Regions from separate parts of the Homo sapiens genome. Here all the other regions are linked to region 1. The links are contacts of gene promoters, found by promoter capture Hi-C in blood cells and fetal thymus (Javierre and others, 2016). All regions are on one chromosome and are shown on one strand. Each heading gives the region's core, a stretch centred on a gene start or on the middle of the fragment in contact. The rest is flanking DNA. Distances are from core to core; before and after follow the strand shown.

What was found. The method cuts DNA at HindIII sites, captures the fragments that hold promoters and counts their contacts. A CHiCAGO score of 5 or more calls a contact.
Region 2: a fragment that was not itself captured here is called in contact with the fragment with the promoter of KCNK16 in region 1 in 5 of 17 cell types (monocytes, neutrophils, total B cells and 2 more); the score reaches 9.4 in monocytes.
Region 3: a fragment that was not itself captured here is called in contact with the fragment with the promoter of KCNK16 in region 1 in 2 of 17 cell types (monocytes and neutrophils); the score reaches 8.3 in monocytes.

The regions. Positions count from the first base shown.
Region 1 is chr6:39,321,450-39,324,803 of GRCh38, reverse strand. KCNK16 (potassium two pore domain channel subfamily K member 16) reads left to right here and starts at 2,102. Exons shown (of 5, transcript NM_001135106.2): 1 at 2,102-2,476. The coding sequence starts at 2,264. All of the region lies in intron 1 of LOC105375047 (a long non-coding RNA gene), which reads right to left. The HindIII fragment of the contact is 9,631 bases long and covers 1-3,354 here.
Region 2 is chr6:39,171,176-39,174,652 of GRCh38, reverse strand. No RefSeq gene overlaps it. Among named protein-coding and RNA genes, the nearest start is that of KCNK5, 57 kb to the left of the region's middle. The HindIII fragment of the contact is 1,297 bases long and covers 1,472-2,768 here.
Region 3 is chr6:39,150,214-39,153,656 of GRCh38, reverse strand. No RefSeq gene overlaps it. Among named protein-coding and RNA genes, the nearest start is that of SAYSD1, 37 kb to the right of the region's middle. The HindIII fragment of the contact is 6,218 bases long and covers 1-3,443 here.

The sequences.
Region 1 (3,354 bases), core at 853-3,352:
TGAGCTGAGATCATGCCACTGCACTCCAGCCTGGGCTACAGAGTGAGACTCCATCTCAAAAAAACAAAGAAACAAACAAAGAACAACAACAAAAACTCATAATAACAATTGGGAAGTAACATAATACCTAATGGTGGCTGAAACAAGGTTTATGTTTTCAATATAAAAAGAAATCTAGAGAGGAGTGTGCAGGAATTGGTCCAGTGTCTTTGCAGTGCCCATGACCTTTCCCTCAGGGACACAAGATGGCTCAGCAGGTCCAGACAGAAAGAGGCAGAAATGCGGGGCCAGCTGCAGCTGAACCCTTGGTCAACAGACAACAATTTTGCCCAAACCTCCTCAGCCAACTCTGCCCAATCATGGCTGGACCTGGGCACGTGGCCAGCCCCAGCTGCAAGGGAGCTTGGGAAAGTGGGTGCAGGGGACGCTTCGACCCTGGGGTCTCCTCCCCAGGCTTTAATGTGTTTTTCTCCCAGTGGCCTAGCCTGCACCTGGAGCTCTCCTTCAGGGGTCTCTCCACAAGCTCCTGGAGCCATCTTTCCTGCACGTGCGCAAAGCCAGAAATGCATGAGTGACGGACTAATGTGGGGATATGAAGGCCCAGGTCCCCTGCTGGGACTCACTGGGGTGCACTTCACCTGCCAGAGCTCCCAGGAACCAGGCTGAGGCTGGGACTGTGGTGCCTTGTTTGGCTTTCTCCTCAGCCTGGCCCTCTTGCCCACTGTCTTATGGGTCTTCAGTGACTTCACTGCTCTCAGGGGCTGAGACAGAGGGGAGCAAGATTAGCACTATGACTTAGACCAATTATGCTCAATTACCTGGGGTTAACACTTACAAAGCCGGGGTTCTGCTAGCTGGGGAGGAGGGAAAGGATACTCAGCAGGCAACTCACAGTGTCTGCAGCCACAGCTCATTAAAGGAAACAGCAGAAAACACAGCAGAGATATTGGAATCCTCGCCCTGGGCTAGTGAGAATATAAAATGGTTCAGCCACTTTGGAAAATAGCCTGGCAGTTCCTCAAAAAGTTCAATACAGAGTGGCCAGATAGTCCAGAAATTCTACTCCTAGGTATGTACCTGTGAGTAATGCAAACACATGTCCACAAAAAAAACTCATACACAGAGGTTCATAGCTGCTTTGTTCTTAATAGAAGGAAACAGGGACAACCCAAATGTCCATCAACTAGAAATCAAATGGATAAACAAATGTGTTATAGCCACACAATGAAATATTACTCAGCCAGAAAGAAGGAAGAAGTACTGTTACATGTTGCAACAGGGCTGGATCTTGAAGACCCTGTGAATATACTAAAACCCACTGAATTGCACACTTTAAATGTGTGGACGATACAGCATGTGAATTATATCTGTATAAAGCTGTTATACATGTACATAAACAAGCATGTGTACACACACACACACAGGCAAAGAGAAAGGAAAGCACTCTCAATTCCATCCACTCAGAGACAGCCCCTCTTACCATCCCAGGATCAGGATATACTTATAGTTTCTTTTTAATTCACACATATATTTCACCGACATATCCTCTGAAGGTAACCCACTAGAGGGCTTCATGCAAGACAAATTAGCAAGAGTTATAAAACCAATGAATCCAACTTATCAGCAGAATCAACCCTGATACTCTTACCATCAGGCTGAGTGAGACAATCACCTGTCTATTTACTTTGCCCTGATTTGTCACGCAGTTTACTCATCCTGAGGTTCCCCCAATAGGCAGTTCAATTATCCTGCCCCATTTTGTAGCCAAGGCAACTGAGTAGAAGGTTTATTCATACCCATTCTGACCTCTTCCCAGCTCCTAAGCTGGGGTCTTACAGCCTTCAAGGGTGAAGACGCTGGGGGCGGCCGAGAGAGCCCACTGGGGCCTGGACAGAGTGAGCACACCTATCCGATTTAGCCCAGAAACATCTATCCAACTTGGAGACAGAGAGAGAGACATGAAGCACTCAGGAGAACCTGGTAGGTCTCTTTGAAGGGTCCCTGACACTGACTTGCTGCTGTCCATGGAAACAAAGGCCGGGTGGGGGTGGCCGGCCTGTTTGCACTCACAGCATAGCACTTAGTGCAGCCAAGCTGAGCCGCACTGTTCAAACAGTCTCCCCAGCCTCCAGACACCTGTGCCGAGGAGGAGGGCAGGGCAGGCGGCAGCCTGGGCACAGGCCCCTAGGTGCTTACTCCTCACCTGTTTCCCACCTCTCCCCCATAGCCAGCCCCACGGCCCTGGCAGGGTCCTGGCCACAGCATGCCCAGTGCTGGGCTCTGCAGCTGCTGGGGTGGCCGGGTGCTGCCCCTGCTGCTGGCCTATGTCTGCTACCTGCTGCTCGGTGCCACTATCTTCCAGCTGCTAGAGAGGCAGGCGGAGGCTCAGTCCAGGGACCAGTTTCAGTTGGAGAAGCTGCGCTTCCTGGAGAACTACACCTGCCTGGACCAGTGGGCCATGGAGCAGTTTGTGCAGGTGAAGGGGAGCGATGTGGGATTGGGATGGAGAGGCTTGGGAAGGTTGGTGGAATGGGGTTCCTGTGGCAGATCCACAGTCCTCACCCAGGAGCTGATGCCCCATTTGGAAGAAGAGTGTGGTGGGAACAGAGAGCCTGGTGAGATCTAATCCTGGATTCTGGCCCCAGGTCTACAACTGGATTGATGTGTGACCTTGAACAGGTCACTTAACCTCTCTGGACCCAAACAGCCTCATCTATAAGGCAACAAGAATAACCATATCGGTACTGCAGACATTTGACAGCAGATTAAAAGCACTCTCTAAGCTGTCACTTGCTGGATGAATGGGAACTATATGTCAGCGTTATCAACGCTATCCAAATTTCCTCCTCCCACACTTTCATACTTCCCCTTCCCCAACTCCAGGGCTGCAGCTCCTTCTGCCCTCTCCCAGCTCATATCCCTGGGCAGACGGCTGCGGGTGGGAGACACAGATAAATGCCAGGAGCAGCCACCACCAAGCTGTCCTTTCCTGGCCTGTTTGCACCTGGAGTTGGGTTTGGTGGGCAATGGCCAAGGTGACTGAGCTTGCCAGCACTGCACCCAAATGGGGCTCTCTCTTGGTAACAGAGTGGGTCACCCCCTGCCTGGGTCCTTTCTGGTTTCCTCTTTCCCAGAAACAAGACAAAACCAGGTGTTGTGGAGGGAGGTGAATGCATCTGAAATAGGCACTGGAGCGAGTGACAACATCCCCTGCAAAGGAACAGACCAAGTGCCAAATCACCTTGATAACTGGCATTTACTGAGCATTCACAATGTGCCTAAAACAGTGGGAAGCAGGGTGGTCATGACCAGCTTAATCCAATCATGATCCACTCATCACCTGACACTGAGCGT
Region 2 (3,477 bases), core at 871-3,370, 150 kb after region 1:
CACTCATGTTAGTTGAAAATTCATGTACAACTTTTGTCTTCCCCAGAACTTAGCTACTAATAGGCTACTGTTGACAGGAAACCTTACCGATAACATAAACAATCAATTAACATATATTTTTTGTGTTATATGTGACATATGCTGTATTCTAATAATAAAGTAAGCTAGAGAAAAGAGAATGCTGCTAAGAAAATCATGAGGAAGGGAAAATATGTTTACTATTTATTTATTTATTTTATTTTTTGAGACTGAGTCTCACTCTGAGTGCAGTGGCGCAATCTCAGCTCACTGCAACCTCCGCCTCCCAGGTTCAAACAATTCCTTGCCTCAGCCTCCCGCGTAGCTGGGATTACAGGCACAAGCCACCACACCCGGCTAATTTTTGTATTTTTAGTAGAGACGGGGTTTCACCATCTTGGCCAAGCTGGTCTGGAACTCCTAACCTCATGATCCACCCACCTCGGCCTCCCAAAGTGCTAGGATTACAGACGTGAGCCACCATGCCCAGCCTGTTTACTATTTATTAAGTGGAAGCGGATCATCATAAATGTGTTCATCCTGGTCATCTTCACAATGAGTAGGATGAGGAGGAGGAAGACATGGGGCTGGTCTTGCTGTCTCAGAGGTAGAAGAAGATCCGTGTATAAGTGGACCTGCACAGTTCAACCCGTCTTGTTCGAGGGTTGACTGTATGTGAACAGGGCTGGTGCCCAGTAAACTTGGTAGCCAGCCCACTTTTTCACTGAGAAACCTCTAAATGTCAGCATCTGTAGGTCCTTTCTCTTGGGTCAATTTCCCAGTAATTTGCTGAGTCCCTCAAATTTGCTCAGAGATATAAACCAGTTCCAATGTTCTGATGCTGAGTGGGGAAGGGCTTGGGGAAACTACTTTTGGTGTGCAGACTTGCACTTAATTTCTAGCCTCACCTGTGTTAACCTCTCTATAAGCCAGCCCATCTTCTGCTATAGTGGAGAAGGCTTTGCAAGAAGTAGGAGGGGATCTGGGGCTCTCACTGCTTCTTCACTCACTTCCAGCCAGTCCCTCTCAGCCCTCCACCCTGGCACCCGCTTCTGAGGTATCCAGTGTTTCCAAGCGCTGAGCCATTGGAGGCTCCCTAAGCTCGAAGCTCAAAGCAGCCTGCTTTTCATTGCCATCCTGACCATCCTCCCACCTCCAGGCCAGGCAGCTACGGTGCAGCTGCTTCCCGGGGGTGAGTAACTGTCCTTCCCCTTTTCAGTTTCCAGAATTTTGCTGACTACCCCACAACTTCACTTTTCTTGTCCTTGTGGGTTATGCCTTCTCAGTAACATCTGAGTGGGGTTTTAGGAGATAGCAGAGACCAAAAGCGGTCAGCCTCTATGCAATGGCCCAGTCACTGGTGAAAATTCTCTGTAGGTGAAAAAGAAACATTGAAGAGATCCCACATCCAAATTCTAACCCCATTAAGAGATCCAGAGACCTGGGAGAAGCTTGAGGAGTCTGGCCTGCCTGCTGATCCCGGCTAAGGAATGACCCTTAAAAGCTCTGCTATGTGGCCTGGCTGCTAGGGGATGGGAATCCAGGTTCTCAATTTTGACAACTCTAGAGTTCTGAGATGGCCCCTTTGCCCCAGGCCAGCTCCTACATTGCCCCATCACATCTCCAGACCTCAGAACAACCCCTGGGGTCTGATGACTTGCTTGACATCCCCCAACCCTTACCTCCAGCCCCTGCCTTCTAGGGCCTGGCCTTTCTAAACTTGCCTCTTTCTTTTATTTTCTCCTTTTATTTTCCTTTTGAATGTTATTTTTTCACTTTCAGTACCTATCCTTCCCCCTTTTTTCTCCCCCCACCTGTTTCTCCCCTTTCCTTTCCCCCATTCTCTCTCTTTCTTGCTCTCTCTCCCTCTCCCTCCATCCATCCATGCCTGACTTCTTCCTTTGGTACATCAGGACCTTTTCCAACAACACCAGTGGTTTTCAGTCAGGATTGATTCACCCACACTCCCAGGAGACGTTTGGCAACTTGTGGGAGGGAGTAGGGGTGCCACTGGCATCTCATGGGTCGAGCCCAGGGATGCTGCTCAACGTCCTACAATGCCCAGGTCGGCCCCCTGCAAACAAAGGGTTTTCCAGCCCCATATGTCAATAATGCTGAAGTTGGGAAACCCTGCTCTACCATAGCCCCTGCTTCACCCCATCCCTAACCCTTCTCAGATAAAACAAGCATGGAGAGCAGGGGCCCCAAAAGGCAGCCATTGCCAGCAAAGGCTGGGATGAGCTGCCCAGACAGCCCGCAGGGCCCAAGCCCCTGGAATCTGCTGGTGTTGGCTGTTTTGGCCTTCTCAGAGTCAGATAACCTGGTGGGAAAGAGCTCCTGAGCCATCCCAACTGCTGCTGCCAGCTGGTTACCTGACTATGGGGACCAGCCCTGGTGCTGGCTCAGGAACAGGTCATGAAAACACAGCCAGCCCACCACCCACTCCAGACTGGTCTCTTCCATGAAGGCAAGGGTGGCAGCAGTAGCCTCTGACAAGTGTGAGGCATGGAAACCTGCCTAATCTCGAGCCTGACTTACCAGCCTGCTGGGAACCCTCCCAGAACCCAGCGTGTGGTATGATGGGGCCTGCCTACCCTCCATGACTGCAACCCTACACTACCAAAGCCTCTGCAGGCTGAGTTGACTTCCTGAAGTTGGCAGGAATAGGGGTGGATTATGGAGCAAGATGGAGCCTGGCCCTGTTGAATTCAGTGAAGCAGGCTAGGGCAGCTCAAGGCAGAGAAGAAGCTTGGAGAGCCCTGGCTCCCAACTTCACCTTCAAACCCTGGGTCATCCCCTGTGGCAGAGACTACTTGTTGCCTCTTAATATTCATTCTCCTATTCTTACACAGTAATTGAATTTGTAGCTGGCTCCCTAGCTAAAGATTACATTTCTCAGACTCCCTTGCAGCTACATGTGGTCACATGACTGACTTATGTCCCAACGAGATATGAGCAGACATGGCGTGTGCAACCTCTGGATAGTGCCTTTAAAAGGAAGAGGAGTGCAAATGTGATGGCAGGAGCTGGAACAATCACTTTAGACCATATGAAACAGAAGCTATATGCTGAAGGTGGCCATGCAATAAGGCAGAAGGCACATGGCTTCCCCCACCATTGAGTTGCCATATTGTGGACCATCTACTCAGACGTTTACATGAGAGAGAAATCAAAGTGTTTCTTGTTTAAGTCTCTGTATTTGCAGTCTCTTTTTATAGCAGCCTATTATGTGTCCTAATAAAAATAGCTCCTTGATGAAGCCTTCTGTGACACCCTCCTAGTCTAGACGAAGTAGGTGTCACTTCTTGCACCCCTGACTGGATATTTTTCGGATGAGAAAACAATGACCCAAGGTCACATTTACAGTTAATTTATAATGGAGCTGAGGCTTGAAGCCAGGTTCAAAGCATTGGCCTGAATGAAGGCCAAGGTTCCTTCACTTTCTAATATCCTAAGGTT
Region 3 (3,443 bases), core at 545-3,044, 170 kb after region 1:
AAAATAATATATACATATATAAGCTAAAAAAATGAGAATTGTATCATTTCAGTGATTCTGCATATGAGAGAAATGCTGTTATATTTGCATTTAAAATTGCCATTGGTGGGCTGGGTATGGTGGTTCAGGTCTGTAATCCCCTTGGGAGGCCAAGGCAGGATGATCACTTGAGGCCAGGAGTTCAAAATCAGCCCGGGAAACATAGCGAGACCACGTCTCTACAAAAAAAAAAAATAAAAAAAAAAAAAAATAAGTCAGGCATGGTGGCATGCACCTATAGTCCCAGCTACTCAGGGGACTAAAGCAGGAGGATTGCTTGAGCCCAGGAATTTGAGGCTGCAGTGAGCTATGATTGCACCTCTGCATTCCAGCCTGGGGAACAGCAAGACTCTGTCTCTAAATACATAAGTAAAACTGCCATTAGATAATGTAAAGATGAACGGTATAATTACAATTTTTAATTTTTCTTTACTGAGATTTACCTTAAGTGGCAAGTAAAAAATACCATGCCAAGTTGACAGAAAGCACCAAACCTCAGAAGAAAGGAAAGAGCTATATATTTTAGTACCTTCAGGGGCATTTTTTCCTGCTCTTTTTTTTTTTTTTGAGACACAGTCTCACTTTGTCTCCCAGGCTGGACTGCAGTGGAACAATCTTGGCTCACTGCAGCCTTGACCTCCCAGGTTCAAGTGATCCTCCTGCCTCAGTCCCCTAGGTAGCTGGGACTACAAGTGTGTGCCACCATGCCCAGCTAATTTTTTTTTTTTTTTTTTTGTATTTTAGGTAGTGGCTGGGTTTTTCCATGTTGCCCAGGCTTTGCTTTTCGATCAAGAGACACACATTTTTATTTTGTACTGGACCCAGCAACTCATGTAGCAGACCCTGGGGAGAGGACACCTCCAGTTCTGGCAGGTGGGCCAAAAGATCAGCTTTGGCACAGGAGAGCTCTCTATAATAGGATTTGGTAATCGTGTCTTCCTGGAGTTATAGCCACTGGTGTTTGAAGCATTGGTGTCTTGGTTTTCCTTGTATTAATTTCTGTCCGGGTCTGGCAGTTTGCCTCTTCTTTCCAACTAAAGCTCTTTCTGCAGCACCAGCGGTATGCCTGCTGTCACGGACTTTCCGACCATTAAGAGCAATCTAGGTCTTATTAGATCTCATCCCCCACCCACCCTGTAATTCATCCTCCAGTTCTTAAATTACTTGCTGATGAGCTTTCACTTCCTCTGCTGCTGAGAGCTCTTGCTCTCCCTCTTCCTATCCATTCTCCTGCGGAGCCATGCCTCTCTGCCTGTCCAGGGCATTTAGAACTTGTGCTTCAGCTACAAGGCTGTGCATCCATTTTTCAGGTGAGCTTTGATGAAATGCTGTGTCCAAGGTCCATGTCCAACTTCTCTGTGCTTCCTGCTTTTGCCTAGCTGACACGTCATCACACAGTCGGAATTGGAAATGGACTCCACTGTTTCCAACTGATCTTAATTTTGTTGAAGCGGTAGCTACTGTCTGTCTTTTCTGACTTTTTGTCTTCTCACCCTGATCATCAGGTGTTTCAGCAGCTCAGTGTAATTATTCAAAATGGGAGTTTCATCCTCTTTGTGCAATAGAGCTGCTTCTAGGACTTTCTGAGATTTCAAATACAATGTAATTCATTTCCTGAGCTCAGTATTTCATTCATTACAACCTTGTCCTTCCCAAATAATAATTGTTCCATGCCGACTTAAGTCTGGAATTTTTTCTTCTTGAACTTAGTAGTGTCAAGACATTGTCTCTTCACTTTGCTTAGATAATCTTTATTAGGGAGCTCCCCTGTCTGGAAGTTTTAAAATAAAATTACCTGTAAAAATGTGTAACCTGGCCGGACACGGTGGCTCACACCTGTTATCTCAACACTTTGGGAGTCTGAGGTGGGCGGATCATGAGGTCAGGAATTTGAGACCAGCCTGACCAACATGGTGAAACCCCATCTCTACTAAAAATACAAAAATCAGCCAGGCTTGGTGGCAGGTGCCTGTAATCCCAGCTACTCAGGAGGCTGAAGCAGGAGAATTGCTTGAACCTGGGAGGCAGAGAGCAGTGAGCCCAGATCATGCCATTGCACTCCAGCCTGGGTGACAGAGCGAAACTCCATCTCAAAAGAAAAACAGAAAAAGGATGTGTAACCTTTCCATAGAGTTTCAGCTTTCCAGTCTTCTTGATATTCTGTTCCCCAAACTGTAAGCACATCTTTCTGTGCGTTTGAATTGTTTCTTCGAGTCAACTGATTGTATCTTTAAGCCCAGATACTTCCTCAGGAAGATGTTTATTTTAGGTCTTGATTTCTCTAAAAGATATCTTTGCTGCTTTGATATTCTGTTCTGAATTGAATAACTTTTTATTTTGGAAACTCACACCTACAGAAAAAGTTGAAAGATTAGTATAATGAATACCCCATATACTCCTCACCAATATTCACTCATTATTTCCATTTCACTGTATTTTATTTTTCCTTAGGTATGACATACACTTTTTTGCTGACAAATTTGGAAGCAAAGCGTACATTTTGTGGAACTCCACCCCTATATATTTCAACATAAATCTTCTATAAATATAAGGATGCTTTCCTACACAACCATAATACCATGCTCATACCTCAGAAAATTAACAATAATTCCAAAATCTAAAATACAAGCCCTATTAAAATGTTCTTATTTGTCCCCAAAATTAATCTGATAACTTTTAAATGATTTATTTTAATTCTGCCAAGATCATTTTAAATTTCTGTGCAATCCATTGTTCAATCACTTGACATTTCCACTCATTATAGAAAAAGTCTTCCCCTGAAGAAAATGGCAAGTGTCCCACTCCCAAGAAGGGTAAACATTCCATATTCCCAGGGCATCTTATAAAAATCTAGCCCGACCTTACCTTCTCAGGCAGACTGGACAGCAGTATCGTGGTATATCAATTTAGAAATTCTTAATCTCCACTGCTGTCAGACGTGGTTGCTTTTCTGCATTTATTTCTTGGCTGTATTCTGAAACACTGGTGTTTCCTAGCTCCTGTACCATTAAGTTACCAGACTCTTTCAAAACATTTAAATCCTCTTCAGGCATTTCCATTCTGACAATGGACAGTCAATTTCTTTACTGGGCAATGTTCCTTGTGTAATTCGTTATTATCTTCTGTTTTGAGCATCATTAGTGTTGAAGTTGGTCCTCTAATAGTTTCTCCAGGAAGGGTTTATAAGAACAATCTTTCCTAATTTCTTGCATACACAAAAATGTTTGATTTTACATTTTTAAAAAATAAAAAGCCAGGTGTAAAAATTTTAGATCACACTTGCTTTCTTTGGGGAGCTTTTAGGATTAGTTCCACTGTCTTCTGGGGTTGCATGCTAATTTGGAGAAGCCTAAAGTTAACAAATCACTTCTCTTAGCCTTTTTGCCTGGCTGACCCAAAGACTC